Regions from separate parts of the Homo sapiens genome. Here all the other regions are linked to region 1. The links are contacts of gene promoters, found by promoter capture Hi-C in blood cells and fetal thymus (Javierre and others, 2016). All regions are on one chromosome and are shown on one strand. The core of a region is centred on a gene start or on the middle of the fragment in contact, and the rest is flanking DNA. Distances in the headings are between cores, read along the strand shown.

Region 1 (2,699 bases), core at 92-2,591:
TACGCCTGTAATCCCAGCTACTGGGGAAGCTCAGGCAGGAGAATCTCTTGAACCTGGGAGGCAGAGATTGCAGTAAGCCAAGATGACGCCACTGCACTCCAGCCTGGGCGACAGAGCGAGACTCCGCCTCGAAAAAAAAAAAAAAAGTAATCCCAGCACTTTGGGAGGCTGAGGCGGGAGAATCGCTCTTGAGGAGTTTGAGACCAGCCTGGGCAACATGGTGAAACCTCGTTTCTACTAAAAATAAAATTAGCCAGGCGTGGTGGCGCACGCCTGTAGTTCATGCTACTCAGGAGGCTTAGGTGGGAGGATCGCTTGAGCCCAGGAGTTCGAGGTTGCAGTGAGCTGCGATCGCATCATTGCAGGCCAGCCTGGGTGACCCAGGGAGACCCTGTCTGGAAAAAAAAAAAGCGGATAGACTAGTCCCAACTCTGAATGTTAAAAGACCAGGACTGGGTATCAGAGGACCTCCAATCCTTGCTCACCTTACCTCACTTCTCTAGGCCTGTTTCTTCCTATGATATGAGCGGGTGGCTTCCACCCTCGCTGTCTAATACAGTGGGCACTAGCCAGCCACATTTGACTATGAAATGGGTCTAGTTCGCATCGAATACACACTGGATTTCAAAGACAAAAAAAGTCAAATATCTTATGAATAAATTTAATGTTGGTTATATTTTGAAATAATATTTTGCACATTCGGGGTTAAATAAAAATATTTTAAAAATAAAATGTACCTGTTATTTTTACTCTTTTGCTGTGGCTACTAAAAATATAAATGACATATGCTGCCCTGGTCTAGATGCTCTCTAATATCCCTTTCAGCTTTAAGACTCCGCCGGGAACACGGTGGACACGTAATTCGTACGATTTGATTGTCTCGCATTGAGATACGGAAGGATTGGCCGGGAGTGAGCGGGCTGGGGCTGGGCGGGGCGGCGCGGGGCGGGCACCCCCCGCCCCCCAACCCCGCAGGAAAACACAGGCCCCTCCGGCTTTCGCTCTCGCTCTGGGAACTGGAAGGACCCCCGACTCCCGCGCAGGGTCTGGGGTTGTGCGCGTCGGGTTGCGTCTCCAGGCCGGGGGCGTCAGGGAGCCGGGGGCGGGGACGGGCGCGGGCGCAGCGGACCGGGCGGGGCCGAGCCGGGAAGCTGGTCGGTGCGTCAGCCTCACGCGGCGGGAAGGAACCGGTCCGAGGCCCCGGGCTGCCGGCGCGGGCGCCGCGGCACGTCCACAGGCTGGGTCGCGAGGTGGCGATCGCTGAGAGGCAGGAGGGCCGAGGCGGGCCTGGGAGGCGGCCCGGAGGTGGGGCGCCGCTGGGGCCGGCCCGCACGGGCTTCATCTGAGGGCGCACGGCCCGCGACCGAGCGTGCGGACTGGCCTCCCAAGCGTGGGGCGACAAGCTGCCGGAGCTGCAATGGGCCGCGGCTGGGGATTCTTGTTTGGCCTCCTGGGCGCCGTGTGGCTGCTCAGCTCGGGCCACGGAGAGGAGCAGCCCCCGGAGACAGCGGCACAGAGGTGCTTCTGCCAGGTGAGCGATGTGCGCGTTGGTGCTGAGGGTCCCGGCGCCCTCCGCGGCGTGCACTGTCCCGCACGCCCTGGCGGGTGAGCGGCTGGGGGTGCGTCCTTGCATCTCTTCCCACCGGGAATGAGACTCCGGTGCTGCTGCCCGGTGGCCGGGACTGAGTCTGGCTTGGCGTGGACCGGGCCTCCACGGCAGCCTGGACGTCGCCGCGCCCTCCGGTGCCTCGGACCAGGAGAGGGGTTGGGTGCACGCGGTTGAGTGGGTTTATGCATCTTTGTTGGTCTTATCTGCCCGGGGAGAGTGTGCACAGTGTATAATGCCCTGCCAGTATTTGCTATTTTCACAGAACCTGGATCTTTCTCACTTCTCTCTTGACCAGGAACTTGTGTACCCAGTACCTGTGCTGCGTGCATTTCGCCAGCCTTTCTGGCTAAGACGTTTGTGGGCTGATCTCAGATTTCGATGTTAGGCGGAAGAATGGCTGCTTGCGGTTTTTCTGTGTGTAAGCCCAACTACCTGATGTCTTTGGGACTGCAGTTGCCCTCTGGTTTCTGGTCCTGTGTGCTCTTTTTCTCGAATGTAATGAGATTCTCTTATCGTGACACCCGTTAAGCTGGTACGAATTGGGAGGAAGGTCCTTATTCTTCAGTGCACAAGTTTAATTACAAGCGGATTATGATCATTTCCTTCTGTAAGAGATGTGGTTTCTTGAGCAAAAAATTGAGAGAAACTTACAGTTTTCCATTATCTTCAGTATCTAGTATTTCAATGTGATTACTCTTGTCAAAGCCACTTTTTGGTTGACTCTGTTGATAAAAATTACGTTTTATACAAAATTAAGGGTTAGGCATCCATGTTATTCCTAAGTGGATTTTGCTATTAATTTATTATCAGAAATACCATTTTATGTGTTTAGGGGCATGATACCATGTCAAAGGAAAGATGCATTTAAATATTATGAAAGGTTTCTCTTTCACTACTTTACATTCTTGGATTTTGTTGTTTTGCTGAGTGATTTGGGAGTTGAGGTGAGTGTTATCTAGGAAACTAAGGGAAGTTGAAAGAAAATTGCTACTTTACAACTGAGACATTGAAAAGTCCTTTACCTTCAATCATTACAAAGGACACACAATCAAGTACTTAAAAGGAAAAGGGTCATTTTTCTTCTGATTAG
Region 2 (2,699 bases), core at 72-2,571, 1.9 Mb after region 1:
GGCTGAGTGAGCTGATGAAATTGTTATCACAAGCAAAAATCACACGTCCTAATTCACTTTTCATTGATGCCATGTTTATTAGTGACTTTCCATTGTAATCTGCATGAATTGTAGTGAACTTAAACATTTTGAGTTATGGCCTTTTGGTGTCTTCCATTTGTCAGCAACAACCCATCTCAGCATTGTCAGCTTGGTATGGCCAAATTAAATGAACTCTCTGAATTGATACTATCTTAAATATCTAACATGGACCTGTGAAACTGTGGTAGGTGGTTGGCCCTCATTTAAGAGGTGAGAACTACCACTAGTGAGTGTGGAGAATAAAGTAGATGAGCGTAGGTTGCCTGAAAGAAGAACTTCAACTCGTATTAACTTGAATGAACTACTGAAAAACAACATTTCATCTAAAAATTTTACGTGCCATACCATCTGTCATGAGGAATCCAAGTTCTAGAGACAGGTATTAATTAGGCTGACTTTCCTGTCGAGTTTATTTTCGGATTCTAAGCAATCAACTAGTCTTGTACAGGTCAGCTACCCAGAAAACGTGCTGGTTATTTGTTATCAAAGGCAGCTTCATTCATAAAGCTGGATCACTGCTATGACAGCAGCCCCGTTTGGAAAGGGCGATTCACCTTTTCTAACAGGGTTTTCTTTGATGGTTGTAGTAACCCCCCATAACAGTGATTAGTTTTAGGCAGTTTGCTGGAGAGGCTAAAGCCATTTGCTGGAAGCCACAGCCACTGTGGACCTACTTGTTGCAACTGGTCAAAAGACGACCTGTACTATCCCCGGGCAGTGGAGCAAGGGCTGGATTTCGGTCCTGACCTGTGCTCTTAGCGGGGCACTTTTATGCAGTACACAAATTACAACTGTATGCTGTGACTTTGGAGAAGAGGCAGGAGTAATGAAGCCTGATAAGGTGGCAAAATGGTCCAATTCAGATAAATTGAACTGCCTTTAATGTAATTTACTGGTAATGTACATTTTATACTTTCTCTAGCCTACTTATTTTAAGTTGCATCTCTCTCCTCACTATGCCACAGATACACTAGGCTCATTCTTGCCTCCTTGCTTCAGCAGATAACAACTGCCCCCCTTCTTTTCTTTTCTTTTTTTTTTTTTGAGACGGAGTCTCGCTCTGTTGCCCAGGCTGGAGTGCAGTGGCGCGATCTCGGCTTACTGCAAGCTCCGCCTCCCGGGTTCACGCCATTCTCCTGCCTCAGCCTCCCGAGTAGCTGGGACTACAGGCACCCGCCACCTCGCCTGGCTAATTTTTTGTATTTTTGGTAGAGATGGGGTTTCATTGTGTTGGCCAGGATGGTCTCGATCTCCTGACCTCGTGATCCGCCCACCTCGGCCTCCCAAAGTGCTGGGATTACAGGCGCAAGCCACTGTGCCCAGCCTGCCCCCTTCTTTTCATTTGGCTCTCTGCAGTTTATCCTTCAGGTCTCAGTTTAGACATTGCTTCTTCCCGATCTAACAAGTCTAAAGTATCCCATCTGCATAGCAACATAGCATCCTGAACTTCCTTGTCATAGCACTTAAAATACTACCCTGTTGTATTTCCTGTTTTCTTGTCTGCATGTCTTCATTAGCATATAAACTTCTTGGGGCAGGAAATATGTTTGTCCTGTTCATGGTTGTTCATGGTTGTATTACCAAGACCTAGCACAGTACCTAGCACAAAGAGAAGCACTCAGTACACATTTATTGAAGAATAAATTCATAAATGCATGTGTACAGATACTTGTTGGTTGATGGATACTGGATATTTGCTTTGGCTGGGTTTAATTGGTTGTGATAGGTTTTGCTGTTGAATAAGTGACCTAGCAAATGAGGACAAATCCTTGGTGAAATGCTGCAGAAGGCTGTGTGGTGTTTCTTAGGAGTCTCGTCCTGATTGGCTGGTTAACTGAAGAGAACTCATCTAGATGGATACACTAGAGAGTCCTGAAATTATGTGACTCACTTAGATGATGATTTCAGAGCCAGAGAGTGATCTGCTCTAGGAAAAGCTAGGATAGTTCTTTCTGAATAAGTTCTAAAGCACACTAATCTTCTCTTGCCTTCTCTAGCACTGGAAGACGCAACGCAGTGAGGAGTATGAAGCGGAAGGTAAGAGCCGAGTGTGTCAGGACGTGCCTGGAAGGGAAGGGCCGCCGGGTGCTCTCCACACCCGGTCTTTCTGATCTCTTATGCTGCAGGCCAGGGGAATTAACATTAAGAACAACAGCAACAAAAAATTTATTCCCAATTGATAGCTTTTAGTTTTAAAATCCTAGCATTTAGTATCATGCAAGAGATGGTAACTAAGATATATAATTTTACTTACGGGCTAATTTCTCTCTTATACAGACTTTCAGATTAATTTTCTAACAGTCTTAAATAGTGACCTATTAAAGTGCATCCCTTGGCCAGGTACAGTGGCTCACGCCTGTAATCCCAGCACTTTGGGAGGCCAAGGCAGGAGGATTACTGGAACGCAGTAGTTCATGACCAGCCTGGGCAACATGGCATACCCCGTCTCTACTAAAAATAGCCAGGTGTGGTAGCACATGCCTGTCGTCCCAGCTACTCAGAAGGCTGAGGTGGGAGAATCCATTAAGCCCGAGAGTTGGAGGCTGTAGTGAGCCGTGATTGTGCCACTGCACTCCTGCTTGGATAACAGAAGAGACTCTGTCTCAAAAAATAAAAAT
Region 3 (2,699 bases), core at 57-2,556, 1.8 Mb before region 1:
TTTTTAGTTGAGGTGGAGTTTCACCATGTTGGCCAGGCTGGTCTCAAACTCCTGACCTCAGGTGATCCATTCGCCTTGGCCTCCCAAAGTGCTGGGATTAAAGGTGTGAGCCACCGAGCCTGGCCAAGAAATGCAAAAATATTAACATGTTTTTGAAAGTTATAATCTCCCTTATGTTATTTGCCTTGGAGCTGCCAACCCTTTCATTCATATTGTCTTTCTATAGTCCACATTCTTTCCTGGAAGGTCAGAAGGTCAGATCTCAATTTGGAAATATAAATAGGTAGGAATATAAATAATAAGGGTCCTAAATTTGAGTTTCAAACATGAGAAACTGGCAAATGGAACTGAATGTGCAATTTTGATATGACATCATAGATAACAGGAATTGTGAAAAATCTTATAGTAGTTTGGCAGAACCTAACAGCTTAACTCTTTATAGCCCATTGAACTTCCAAGTTCCTGAAACTCTCATGGTTTCAGATGCTGGGCTTCTGTTGTCTGTACATACTAAGTGGTAGGAGGCTACCTGAAGCCTGCTCCAACTGAGCTGACACTGATGATTAATGTGGTATTTAGTCTGTGGCCCAAAGCTTAGGACATTCATCTAGAACAGTGATTCTCAACTCGGAGTGTTCCTCCCTACCACTTCAACATTTGGCAATGTCTGGAGACATTTTTGTTTGTCACAACTAGGAAGTTGCTACTGGCCTCTAGTGGGTAGAGGCCAGGAATGCTGCTAAACATCCTACAATGCACAGTGCAGCCTACTCACAACAAAAAATGTATCCAATTATCCAATGTCAATATTGCTGAGGTTGAGAAACCCTGGTACAGAAAATTCTATTGGCCCTGGGCACTTCGCACCAAATCACTGTTTCCACCTTGGTCCAGGCCATGTCTTTTCCGGGGTTACCACAGTAGCCTCCTGAATAGTGTCCTTCTTCTGTCTCTGCTCTCCACAGTCTAGTCTTTTTCTTTTTAAAAAATACTTATTTAAGGCCGGGCATAGTGGCTCATGCCTGTAATCACAGCCCTTTGGGAGGCCGAGGTGGGCAGATCACGAGGTCAGGAGTTCGAGACCAGCCAGGACAATATGGTGAAACCCCGTCTCTACTAAAAATACAAAAATTATCCGGGAATGGTGGTGTGTGCCTGTGATCCCAGCTACTCAGCAGGCTGAGGCAGGAGAATCATTTGAACCCGGGAGGTAGAGGTTGCAGTGAACTGAGATCGCATCACTGCACTCCAGCCTGGGTGACAGAGCAAGACTCCGTCTAAAAAAAAAAAAAAAAAAGAAAAAAAGAAAGAAAAAAACTTATTTAAAATTTAATTTAATTTTTTATTTATATACAGTAATGTTCACCATGTTTAGTGTACAGATCTATGAGTTTTCACAGATGTATAGAGGTCATGTAACTGTAATCACAATCAAGATACAGAAGGGCAGCTCAGTTTTCAAAGTCTCTACTTTGCTTTCTGAGTCAGCTTCTTTGATTCAGCCTGCTTAGGTCAGAGTCAGACAGTAAAGGAGAAAAAAAAGAACTAGAAAATTTGGGTGTCATTCTAGTCATTCTACAAGTTTTGACTTCCTGTGGTGCAAGCCCTGAAGTTAGGATCTAATATTATGTGCTGTCTTGACATCTGGTGAAATTGGGAAAGGCTTAACCTCAAGTTCCTTTCTCCACTCCGCTCCCATGGATAAAGTCCCCTAGCCAAACAGCCCTCCTTATCAGGAGTACCAGGCACGGTGTCTGCTTATCCCTGAGTAGTGGGTTTCAGTTCCCTGCCAGCCCACAGGATTATTTAAACAAGCCCATCACTTCCTACTGCAGGAACCAAAGAGCTGTAGAGGAGGGAAAAATAGCTTCCCTTTACCCTTCTAGGTTCTTTGGCTGGCCTCAAATTAAATTGACATGCAACAGATTAACAAGAGAAAAGCCATAATTAATAATGGATGTACGCATGAGAATCCCACAAAATATGAGACTCGAAGAAGAGTCAGATGATTGAAGCTTATATAGCATCCTGAGCTACAGAAAGGAACAGTGACTCGGGGCTTCTGAGGGGTGATAATGATATAAGTTATGGAAAAGCGAGGAGAGGAAATTTTGCTGAATAAATGTTGTCTTGTTATACAGATAAAAAGTCCCTTGGGTAAAAAAAGTTGTCTTAAAGCAGCCTTCAAAAACATAGGTGATAGTCTGTCTGGGCATGGGTCAACCTCTAGTCTCCTCCACTGCAATCCAAGTTCATCTTCCCTGGTTGATATGGTTAATAAGATTCCCAGAAAGGGGATTCTTGACAATCGAATTCCTTTTGGAGGATTCATCTTCAGGCAGATTGGAGGATGCTTCGAGAAAGCCTCTGCCTGCAACTCTTGTTCCCCACGTGTCCTCAGTTCAAAGTAATCTGCATACCAAAGCATCATATTTGGGGGTGGCATTCCCTGAACTCCTTTGGAGTATCCCACCCTCTTGAGTATCCCACTCACTACAAAGCCTGGTTCCACAGCTCCTGATTGTTCATTCCGTTCCCAAGTGCAGCACCCTTGGGCCATGCTGTGTCCTCTTCCCCTTTGCTGGAAGTATATAAGACCAATAAACTGCTGTTGATCTCACCTGTCCAGTGTCAGGTGGGGTGTGTTCAGCCATCCCCATAACCCTAGGGTGGACAAAGTCCTTGTGATCACTTAAGGA
Region 4 (2,699 bases), core at 53-2,552, 1.8 Mb before region 1:
TCGAATGGATTCTTTTCAGTTTTCGTCTTCTCTGACCTTTTAGCTGCATTCCAGAGTGTTATACTCTCTTGTTTTTGAAGCATTCTCTTCCTTCATTCTTCCCCTTTGGCTTCTGGGATACAGAGCTCCTCCTACTTCTCCTATTGGTCCATCTGTTTCCCTTTCAGACTATTCTCCTTTCCCTGGACAATGCTCGAAGGAGTCCCAGGTTTCATCCTAATCCTTCATTTTCCATTCTGTATTCTTCATCCTAAACTATGGCTTCAGTTACCATCTATATTCAGATGACTTGTGAATTTACAGCTCAGAAGACCTTGCTTCTGAGATCCAATCCAGATCTGTATGTACTTTTTTTTCTTTGAGTCGGAGTTTCACTCTTGTGGCCCAGGCTGGAGTGCAATGGCGGGATCTCGGCCCATTGCAACCTCCGCCTCCCAGGTTCAAGCAGTTCTCCTGCCTCAGCCTCCCAAGTAGCTGGGATTACAGGCATGTGCCACCACGCCCGGCTAATTTTGTTTTTTTGTTTGTTTGTTTTGAGATGGAGTCTCGCTCTGTCGCGTTGGTTGGAGTGCAGTGGCGCGATCTCCGCTCACTGCAAGCTCCGCCTCCCTGGTTCACGCCGTTCGTTCTCCCGCCTCAGCCTCCCGAGTAGCTGGGACTACAGGCTCCCGCCACCACACCCGGCTAATTTTGTTTTTGTATTTTTAGTACAGACGGGGTTTCACCGTGTTAGCCAGGATGGTCTCGATCTCCTGACCTCGTGATCCACCTGCCTCGGCCTCCCAAAGTGCTGGGATTACAGGCGTGAGCCACCGCGCCCGGCCCTAATTTTGTATTTTTAGTAGAGACGGGGTTTCACCATGTTAGCCAGGATGGTCTCGATCTCCTGACCTCAAGTGATCCACCTGCCCCGGCCTCCCAAAGTGTTGAGATTACAGACGTGAGCTACCGCGCCTGACCCCAGATCTATATATTAATATTTCAATATTTAGTTACCATTCCCCTGGGAAGCTTTTCCTCCACTTGGTCTCCTCAAAGCCACCTCAGTTTGTCCAAAGTAGAACTCATGCCCTTTCTCCTCAAACCTAGTCTTCTGTCTGTTATACAAGACAATCTGTTATACCAGCCAGAAGCCTAGTATATCTGGTAACCCTTTTTTTTGCTTACTCACACCCCACCCCCACCCCCAATATCCAATCTGTCACCACCTCCTTTGTAGTGGTTAAGAGAGTGAGTTAAGATAGGCTGCCTGGGTTGAATCCTGGCTCCACTAGCTATGTAATTGGGGAAAGATACTTAACCTCTCTAAACCTTAGTTTCTTGCAAAATGGGAGTAATAATAGTATCTGTTTCGTGAGATTGTTTTGAACATAAAAGGAAATCTATGTAAAGGATATAACAGTGTTTCTCTCATAGGGTCTGATACATGTTAACTATTATTAGGACTAAATGGGAATTTTTTGCTATTGAGTTGTTTGAGATCCTTGTATATTCTGATTATTAATCCTTTGTTGAGTGGAGAATTTGCAGATATTTTCTCCCATTCTGTAGGTTGTCTCTTCACTCGTTGTTTTCTTTCCTCTCAGAAGCTTTTTAGCTTGATATGATCTCATTTGTCTATTTTGCTTTAGTTGTCTGTGCTTTTGAGGTCTTACTCAAAAAAATCTTTGCCCAGACCAATGTCCTGAAGCAATTGCCCAGTGTTTTCTTCTAGTGGTTGTATAGTTTCAGATCTTACATTTAAGTCTTTAATCCATTTTGATTTGATTTTTGTATATGCTGAGAGTTGGGGTCTGTTTGTTTTTGTTTTTTTGTTTTTGTTTTTGAGATGGAGTCTCGCTCTGTCGCCAGGCTAGAGTGCAGTGGTGCAATCTCGGCTCACTGCAACCTCAGCCTCCCGGGTTCAAGCGATTCTCCTGCCTCAGCCTCCCGAGTAGCTGGGATTACAGACGCTTGCCACCACGCCCAGCTAATTTTTGTATTTTTAGTAGAGACGGGGTTTCACCATGTTAGCCAGGCTGGTCTCGAACTCCTGACCTCATGATCCGCCCGCCTCGGCCTCCCAAAGTGCTGGGATTACAGGCGTGAGCCACTGTGCCCGGCCCGGGGTCTGGTTTTATTCTGCATATAGCTATCTGGTTTTCCCAGCACCATTTATTGGAGAGAGTGTCCTTTCCCCAGTGTATGTTTTTGGCATCATTGTCCAAAATGAGTTGGCTATAAATGTGTAGATTTACTTCTGGGTTCTCTATTCTGTTTCATTGGCCTGTGTGTGTGGTTTTATGCCAGGATCATGCTGTTTTGGTAACTATTGTTTTGTAGTATATTTTGAAGTACTGCTTTGTTCTTTTTGCTGAGGGTTGCTTTGGCTATTCACAGTCTTTTGTGGCTCCTTACAAATTTTAGGATCTTTTCTCTCTTGCTTTTAAGAATGTCATTGGTATTTTGATGGGGATTGCATTGAATCTGTAGATCACTTTGGGTTAGTATGGACATTTTAACAATATTATGTCTTGTAATCCATGAGCTTGGAATCTTTCCATTTTTGTATGTTCTCTTCAATTTCTTTCATCTGTGTTTTATAATTTTCATTGTAGAGATCTGTCACTTCTTTGGTTAAATTTATTCCTAAATTTTTTATAGCTATTGTAAGTGAGATTGCTTTCTTGATTTCTTTTTCAGATTGTTTCCTGTTGTTG
Region 5 (2,699 bases), core at 69-2,568, 1.8 Mb after region 1:
AATAAGCTTGATTAAAAGAGTGTTCTGTAAGTAGCATTTTCTAACTGATTCTGTATATTCTAGCCACAAGAATCTTGACTGAACCCTTTGTGTAGGACTCAACAGGCCCAGGTATCCAACGATAAACATCCCTGTAAGGCGTCTGTCTTTAGCTGAAGCTGGACAATTGGATTCACAGACGTTAAGACAGAGGCTCTGGAACACAGAGACCTAAGGGCAGATCTTATCTCTATCGTTTACTGTTTGACCTTGAGATCTTATCTCTACCGTTTACTATTTGACCTTGAGCAGTTACAATTCCTCATCTTTAAAAGAGGATTAAATGCAGTAATACATATAAAATATTTAGAGCTGTATTAGCGAGTATTATTGTTGATGTAGGCTGTAAAAAAGTTACAAAACAGTACTCAGTATTCATAAGTTGTTTCAGTTAAAGATGTTTTAAATTTAATATAATATAATTGAAGTGCTAGGTTCATATTTCCTGACAAATAAATTCTAAGCAATACTGTATCCTTTTGCAGGTAGAAGAAGCAGATGATTGGCTCAGATATGGAAACCCTTGGGAGAAGTCCCGCCCAGAATTCATGCTGCCTGTGCACTTCTATGGAAAAGTAGAACACACCAACACCGGGACCAAGTGGATTGACACTCAAGTATTCAGAGTGCTCGTATAGCCAGCGTTTTGTATAGTATTTAGTACAGTAGATAATACATTGACTATGTAGCATATAGTGGTGATATTGAGTATAGGGCATGTCGTGTTTTGAATAATAGAATATATTTTTGTAAATAAATCTGTTACTTCTCTTAGCGCAGCCCAGTCATTTTGGAGACAAAGGAGCTGAGGCCAAGAGAGGAGTGACTTTTATAAGGGTCATTTTGCAACCAGCTTTGTCAGAAAATTGTCAGTTCTTTTTTTTTTTTTTTTTTTTTTGCCAGAAAATTGTCAGTTCTATAGTAACCAGCATGCTTACCTCTTTGGTTTTATATTAAGGTGTTGATAGCAAAATTGAATAATTTGAAATGTCATTCCTGGCTGGGTGCAGTGGCTCACAACTGTAATCCCAGCACTTTGGGAAGCCGAAGCGGGCAGATCACCTGAGGTCAGGAGTTCAAGACCAGCCTGGCCAACATGGTGAATCCCTATCTGTACTAAAAATACGAAAATTAGCCAGGAGTGGTGGCCCATGCCTATAGTCCCAGCTACATGGGAGGCTGAGGCAGGAGAATCGCTTGAACCTAGGAGGTGGAGGTTGCAGTGAGCTGAGATCATGTCGCTGCACTCCAGCCTGGGTAACAGAGTGAGACTCTGTCTCAAAAAAAATAAAATAAAATAAAATAAAAATAAAAGTTTGCAGTTTACACAATCAATCCTGGAAGCATTTTATTTACACTGTGGGTCCCACTGCTGAGCTAACTTGCATTTACAAAACACCTCTAGATACTGTCATAATGTATCCAGAAATTCAATTAGAGAGAGTGTGTGTTTCTGGGCCAACAGAGGCAAGGTTAGGGGGCAGAGGTAATATAAGTGAGCTGGCCCAAGCCATGCAACTTAGCCTCATAGATTGAAGTCATCACATGAATTAACCCCAAACTGGTACCCAGTGATGTCAGAGCATGAGTCCAGATGTGCTCTGTGCGTGCATGGGATGGCTTCCAATAAAGTCAAATGACACAGTCACGTGTCAGTTTAGGTCCTCTAGGAAACAGACACCAGAGAGAATGAGAAGTGCAAGTGACATATTGGGGGATGCCTATGAAAGACAAAGGGGAGAGGGAGCAGGATGAGGTGGGAAGGCTTCAGACTGTGACACAGGTGTGCCACCTGTGAAAAGTGAAGGGGAAAGAAGCAGCATTCTCAGGGAGAGCCTCAGACCACAGTGCCACTCTGAGCAAGTGGCCAGGCTGATGGAGCCTGACACTAAAGATTGCCCATTAGAGAAGTCTCGGCCCTAGTGTCCCAGCCACATGGAGTGTCCCAGAGAGCGCAGCTTTGGTGTGAGCTCTGAGGGAGCAAGTCCTCTTTGAGGTTCTCTGAAAGAAGATCTAAGCTGTGCACTTCTTGGGCTGCCTTAATTATGCTTCAAGGGTCAGAAGGGTCCAACTCTTGTTTGAACCGAGACTCAATCCCAGCCTGCAAATGACTTTCCCTGATTGATTACAACTTGCTTTAAAAGTCCAGAGACTTTTATCTCTTAATGAAAGATATTTAAATGAGGGTGATTTATTACTTTGAGGTCGCGGTGATCACGAAAGTATGACTGAGTATATGTGATTGATATGGGCCATAATGCTTCATTCATTCACAATTCAGCAGACCAAATTAAAGAGATGCGTGTTTAAGTTTCAATCCTGCCATGACTGTGATCTTGGGCAAGTCACTTCTCTCTCAGCTTCAGCTCCCTCATGTCCAAAATAAGTGGGTTGCACTAAATGAGATCCAGCATCCTCCAGTTCAATTATTCTGTCATTCTCCTTCCTTCGAGCTTGACTCTGATGAGGCCGGGAATAAAAATGAATGATTTCTCACTTGAATTTTCGATGCACTGTGAAACATAGTTAATCTTCCTCTTCTCTATTTCAGTGACTGTCACAAAGATCAAGCTAGATTTTCCAAAGCTTACCTCTTAGACTCAACTCAGCTAATTATCAGCTGATTTGGCAGATCACTGTAGGAATCACTAAAATAACTC
Region 6 (2,699 bases), core at 117-2,616, 1.8 Mb after region 1:
CTCCCACCTCCCTTGCTCTCCAATAACTGTGCAGATGAATCCCAAATATGGATCCCTAGTCTGAATTCCTTTTCTAACTCTATGCGTACATTTCTGAGTGTTTAGTGAACATATCTAGATATCTTCCTATTTCCTCAAACTCAGTACGTTAAAAACTCAAACCATTATTTCTCCCAATCCTGCCCCATCTTCCCGTGTTTTGTTTTGTTTTGTGACAGAGTCTCACTCTGTCACCCATGTTGGAGTGCAATGATGCAATCTCGGCTCACTGCAACCTCTGCCTCTCGGGTTCAAGTGATTCTCCTGCCTTAGCCTCCTGAGTAGCTGGGATTACAGGTGCATGCCACCATGCCCAGCTACTTTTTGTATTTTTAGTAGCGACAGGATTCCACCATTTGGACAGGCTGGTCTCGAACTCCTGACCTGGTGATCCACCCACCTCGGCCTCCCAAAGTGCTGGGATTACAGGCATGAGCCACCACGACTGGCCTCTGTGTTTTTTGTTTTCATGCCATTGTCATCTTGACAATCCAGACGCAAACTTTAGTCTCACTTTTTGCCGTTCAACTGTTTGCCAATTTCTGTTGATTTCTATAGGTTCCCTTGAATGACGTGCTCTCCTCCATTATCTCTTCCTGCCTTGGTGAGGCTCTAGCTACCCATTTGTTGCAGCTGACTTCACGTGGTTATTTTGCTTTCCAGAAGTGGTAAAACCGGCAGCCTGAGGCTGAATAAGGATAGCAGACATACTTTGTTGGCCAAGACATTTTTCAGGAATTTAATTTTTAGCGCCTGTGGTCAGGACTTGCACACTCCATTTCTTAGCCCAGTACTCTTCTTTGTTTTATGTGACCTCAATTACACATTTATTTTCTCTGCCTAGCTCCTGAAGGCATTTGAGTATATGATCCCGTCTCATTCTGTGCATTGTGGTCTGCTCAAGCTTCCTAAAGCAACGCATCTTGCCCCTGCTCAATTATCATTGGCTCCTCTTGCCTGCCATAGAACTTAAGCAAGTATTCGAAAGCACTTCTCAGTCCAGGTGGGCCTGTTCTTCCCTTGTTATCTTCCATTACCCTCTGTACCCACCTTGCTCTCCCAACAAACCAATCCCCACTCTGGGCCCCCGATTCACTTGCAGTGTCCTTCCTACCACATTTCTATGCTCAACTCTTGCCTGTCCTGCAAGTCTCAGGTTTATTGACAGGTGTTCCAGAGGTCTTCCCGGAAGTACCCAGGCCCTCTGACTAATGCTGGGGATAAAAATAAAACATACAATTTAAAAATATTTGTTATATCTTCTTTATTTTATTTTACAAGCCTTTTGAAAATATCCACTTTTTACATAAAATACTAGTAATCATAGTACATGCATGTAATTTATAAAGTATATTGGAGATGCTCATATATTTTACTATCAGTCATATGTAACAAATATTTAGAGACCAGTAAGTAAGAGTATGGCCAAGATCTATTTTTTGAAGTCTTATATATTCCCAAATATAAGGAGAGATTACCTCTAAGAAGTTATTTGTGAGAAAACAGGGAATCACCTTACGTTCCTGTCCTTATAAAGTCTGTCATGCAAGGAAGTATTTTCTCATTTACTTTATTCTGAGCAACCACATATCTCTCAAGAGAGACTTTGAAATATTTTTAAGAAGACTTAAGTTCGTGCTAATGTGGAATCATTAAAAAGGAGGCAAATTTAATACAGATGTAGTCATTATTCCTGGGGGTATAACCTCACAATTGCAAGTGTGGAATATATACTATATAAACAAGCTTTTTGTAGATTACTTAAAAGAAAAAGGCAAAACATCATGGTTATAGAGATAATGAAAATACACACATGGAAGGATTTTTTTAAACTGGGTAATACTATGCAAATGGGTATTTGTGGCTTAAGATACTATTACCTGTGACAGCGGTCATCACGTACTAGAGCACCAGCCATTGCCTATGTCTGCCCCAGAGAAGGTACTTTTATCCAATCATTCGAAGGTATCTAATAGCTGGTGAGGGTTCTAGTAACAGCATTATAGACATTCAAACAACTTGGATGAAAACGAAGATGATGTGTTCTGGAAAGCAGTGTTAGGTGGCCCGTTAGGTCATGGATGTTGACCATTTGTTGTGAAATTTAGAACTCAATTGTTCATAAAAGGAAAATGGGAAAGAATGAAATTTCCAAGTTGACGTTTTCAAATAATATTTTGTTTTAAATATTTATGTGTAACTAGTATGTTAAATATGATAATACGCCTTTATTATACTGAATTCTACTCACAATTTTTTTTGATTGGCCAAATTATTATTTTTTCTTTTTTTACTTCTTATCTTATGGAAATGGGGCAATCCCTAAAATTTGAGGTAACTATATTGGTGCATTTACAGATTTTTGCCATTTTGTTTTGTGTCTAGTAGAGAAGAGAGGATAGATGATTGGAGAATAAGATATTGTAAAAGGGGGCAATGAAGTTACTCACTGGTGCTTTTTTTTTTTAATTAGTAAACTGTGCTGTATATAAAGAAGGTTTTCAGCAGGTCTGAACTTTGTACCTCTCACCTTCAACTCTGATGATATTTGCCTGACTTTTACCATGTCAAAGGCAAATAATGTCTAAGTCAATAGAGAAATTTCCAATTTCAATAAGAACAAACACCAATAAACCTTAGGTAGTCTTCTTGTTCATAAG
Region 7 (2,699 bases), core at 61-2,560, 1.7 Mb before region 1:
GCAGAAGGTTTGGTCAGGGATGCTGCTTCATAAGTTTTCAGACACATTCAGTCAGTAAAGGATGGTCCTCATTCTCCATGGCAAAGTGATGTCATTGAAGGATAGGGATGTGTGAGTTTGCAGAAATTTCTGCTTGTCTTCAGGGTCTCTCCAGACATTATGTTTCATTTTTTCCTTATCATTCTTCATAAGTGGTGTGCTCTGCCCTTTATTTTCTGATTTGCTTGATTTGAGTGGTATGAATGAAAGAAGTAGTTCTACCTTACAGGGTGGTGCAGTTTCCGATTTTTGTTCTTTTTTTTTGAGTCGGAGTCTCTGTTGCCCAGGCTAGAGTGCAGTGGCGCGATCTCTGCTCACTGCAACCTCCGCCCCACCAAGTTCAAGCAATTCTCCTGCCTCAGCCTCCTGAGTAGCTGGGATTACAGGCGTGCACCACCACGCCCGGCTAATTTTTGTATTTTTAGTAGAGACAGAGTTTCACCATGTTGGCCAGGTTGGTCTTGAACTCCCGACCTCAGGTGATCCGCCCACCTTGGCCTCCCAAAGTACTGGGATTACAGGCGTGAGCCATCGCGCCCAGCCTGATTTTTTTCCTTTTATACTCTCATGGACTCATTGTTCCTCTAGGTCAGGGTGTCTCAGCTTCGGCACTGTTGACGCTTCTGGGCTGTGTGGGAATTTCTGTGGGAAGCTGTCCTGTATATCATGGGACGTTCAGCAGCATCCCTGGCCTTTACCCACTAGTTGCCATGAGCACCCTCCTGCCCCCTCATGACAACCAAAAATGTCTCTGGACATTGCCAGATGTCCTGAGGGGCAAAATTGCCCTGGGTGAGAACCACTGCTGTAGGTGTGTTGTAGGTGCAGTGAAATGACTGCTTATTAAAACTAGAAAAGGACACTGTTAAATGTAGAATTATATATTTCTTTAAGCTATGTGAATATACTTTTACACATCACTTATATAAAATACTTTCTCATTTTTTATTAATACATACTCAACTAGAGAGGACTTTCTCCTTGATTTTCAGAATATTTCCAAAAAAGCTGTAAGCTTTAAAAAACAGCATAAGCTTCCCTTCTCTTTTTCATTACTTGAAAACTTGCTAAGATAGGCTTATATTCATATTCATATTTCTCTTCATACATAAGTTTCCATCATAGAAAAGATGAATGGTTAGACTGAAATTTAGGAAAAAGGTATTTTTGGTATTTTTATGCCTTTAGAGGCTATTACTGTGAAAATGAGTATCCTTTAGTGCATATGCAGATATTACTCATCTATGAAACAAAGAAGTGCTCTGAAAAGTGAAATTCTATGTGTCACTTTAATTTCCTGTTAATTTTCATTTCATAAGTTTCCATAGCAAATGTCTGGAACGGGCTGGTGTATGATAGGCACTTCATACGTATTTGTTGAATGAAAGAAATGAAATGAATGATTGAATAAATGATAAAGTTGGAGATGTGCAGTTGTGGGAAAATGTTCAGCAGGATATGGTAGCACCAGGACATTTGTTGTGTTTTAAGGTTGTCTATCAAGCTTGTTCAACTCCTTTGTATTTCTGTTTAGAGTTATGTGCTTTTTGAATCATGCCCCTATGCCGTTCCCATAGCACTCTGTAGAATTGCCCTTGGCAGTTCTTAAACCTAAATCAAAAGGTCATTGCCTTTTATTTTGCTGTTTTCCCCCCTTTTCTTTTTTAACCACTTCCTAAAAGTTGCTATTGCTTAGATCCTTTCTGTAATGGGAAAGATCCTTGATTGATCATTCCTTTCTATACAATGGGGATACACATGGTACCTGCCTTCTAGGACTCCTTGAAGGATTAAGCAAGGTAATGTATATAAGAGACCTAACAGGGCCTGGCGTGAAGTGAGCCCTCCAGAGATACTCATTCTATTATTAGACACAACTCCAGAGTGTGTGATGTTTGGATGGCTTCTCTAAGCTCTGATCCGCCATTAAGCTTTCAGCTGTGCCGTTCTACTTGCTAAAATTGGAAGGGAATAGGGGACAACTACAGCATATGCACTGAGCCAAGTCATATGTTAGGCAAAAGTCCATAAATGCAAATTAAAATCACTGTGAACTTGTCATTAGTCTTGTCATTTTCTGTGATACTAGTTTGCTATATAAAGCATACTCTCTCATGCTCTGAGTTTTTTTTTAATAATTAGTAATGTTCAAATTAACATCTTTTTTCTTCTTTTCAGCATGATCTATGTTTTGGTGAGCTCTTAGAACAACACACAGAAGAATTGGTCCAGTTAAGTGCATGCAAAAAGCCACCAAATGAAGGGATTCTATCCAGCAAGATCCTGTCCAAGAGTAGCCTGTGGAATCTGATCAGTTACTTTAAAAAATGACTCCTTATTTTTTAAATGTTTCCACATTTTTGCTTGTGGAAAGACTGTTTTCATATGTTATACTCAGATAAAGATTTTAAATGGTATTACGTATAAATTAATATAAAATGATTACCTCTGGTGTTGACAGGTTTGAACTTGCACTTCTTAAGGAACAGCCATAATCCTCTGAATGATGCATTAATTACTGACTGTCCTAGTACATTGGAAGCTTTTGTTTATAGGAACTTGTAGGGCTCATTTTGGTTTCATTGAAACAGTATCTAATTATAAATTAGCTGTAGATATCAGGTGCTTCTGATGAAGTGAAAATGTATATCTGACTAGTG

What was found. The method cuts DNA at HindIII sites, captures the fragments that hold promoters and counts their contacts. A CHiCAGO score of 5 or more calls a contact.
Region 2: a fragment that was not itself captured here is called in contact with the fragment with the promoter of ERO1A in region 1 in 1 of 17 cell types (neutrophils); the score reaches 7.6 in neutrophils.
Region 3: a contact is called between a fragment that was not itself captured here and the fragment with the promoter of ERO1A in region 1, in 1 of 17 cell types (M2 macrophages). The highest score is 6.7, in M2 macrophages.
Region 4: a contact is called between a fragment that was not itself captured here and the fragment with the promoter of ERO1A in region 1, in 1 of 17 cell types (M2 macrophages). The highest score is 7.0, in M2 macrophages.
Region 5: a fragment that was not itself captured here is called in contact with the fragment with the promoter of ERO1A in region 1 in 1 of 17 cell types (neutrophils); the score reaches 7.4 in neutrophils.
Region 6: a contact is called between a fragment that was not itself captured here and the fragment with the promoter of ERO1A in region 1, in 1 of 17 cell types (neutrophils). The highest score is 7.3, in neutrophils.
Region 7: a contact is called between a fragment that was not itself captured here and the fragment with the promoter of ERO1A in region 1, in 1 of 17 cell types (M2 macrophages). The highest score is 5.2, in M2 macrophages.

What each region holds. Positions count from the first base shown.
Region 1 is chr14:52,694,200-52,696,898 of GRCh38, reverse strand. It overlaps ERO1A (endoplasmic reticulum oxidoreductase 1 alpha), which reads left to right and starts at 1,341. Exons shown (of 16, transcript NM_014584.3): 1 at 1,341-1,531. The coding sequence starts at 1,418. RefSeq lists a silencer at 870-1,409 and enhancers at 1,660-1,709, 1,315-1,816. The HindIII fragment of the contact is 13,242 bases long and covers 1-2,699 here.
Region 2 is chr14:50,778,184-50,780,882 of GRCh38, reverse strand. It overlaps NIN (ninein), which reads left to right. Exons shown (of 31, transcript NM_020921.4): 6 at 2,079-2,118. Among named protein-coding and RNA genes, the nearest start is that of NIN, 52 kb to the left of the region's middle. The HindIII fragment of the contact is 4,250 bases long and covers 1-2,699 here.
Region 3 is chr14:54,501,706-54,504,404 of GRCh38, reverse strand. No RefSeq gene overlaps it. Among named protein-coding and RNA genes, the nearest start is that of CGRRF1, 6.9 kb to the left of the region's middle. The HindIII fragment of the contact is 1,422 bases long and covers 596-2,017 here.
Region 4 is chr14:54,485,375-54,488,073 of GRCh38, reverse strand. The region is part of intron 1 of GMFB (glia maturation factor beta); the gene reads left to right. Among named protein-coding and RNA genes, the nearest start is that of GMFB, 2.3 kb to the left of the region's middle. The HindIII fragment of the contact is 578 bases long and covers 1,014-1,591 here.
Region 5 is chr14:50,921,926-50,924,624 of GRCh38, reverse strand. It overlaps PYGL (glycogen phosphorylase L), which reads left to right. Exons shown (of 20, transcript NM_002863.5): 5 at 525-656. Among named protein-coding and RNA genes, the nearest start is that of PYGL, 21 kb to the left of the region's middle. The HindIII fragment of the contact is 2,619 bases long and covers 9-2,627 here.
Region 6 is chr14:50,939,390-50,942,088 of GRCh38, reverse strand. All of the region lies in intron 1 of PYGL (glycogen phosphorylase L), which reads left to right. It overlaps LOC124903314 (a long non-coding RNA gene), which reads left to right. Exons shown (of 2, transcript XR_007064163.1): 2 at 884-1,288. Among named protein-coding and RNA genes, the nearest start is that of PYGL, 3.7 kb to the left of the region's middle. The HindIII fragment of the contact is 842 bases long and covers 946-1,787 here.
Region 7 is chr14:54,427,360-54,430,058 of GRCh38, reverse strand. CNIH1 (cornichon family member 1) reads left to right here. Exons shown (of 5, transcript NM_005776.3): 5 at 2,218-2,699. The coding sequence ends at 2,245. Among named protein-coding and RNA genes, the nearest start is that of CNIH1, 13 kb to the left of the region's middle. The HindIII fragment of the contact is 470 bases long and covers 1,076-1,545 here.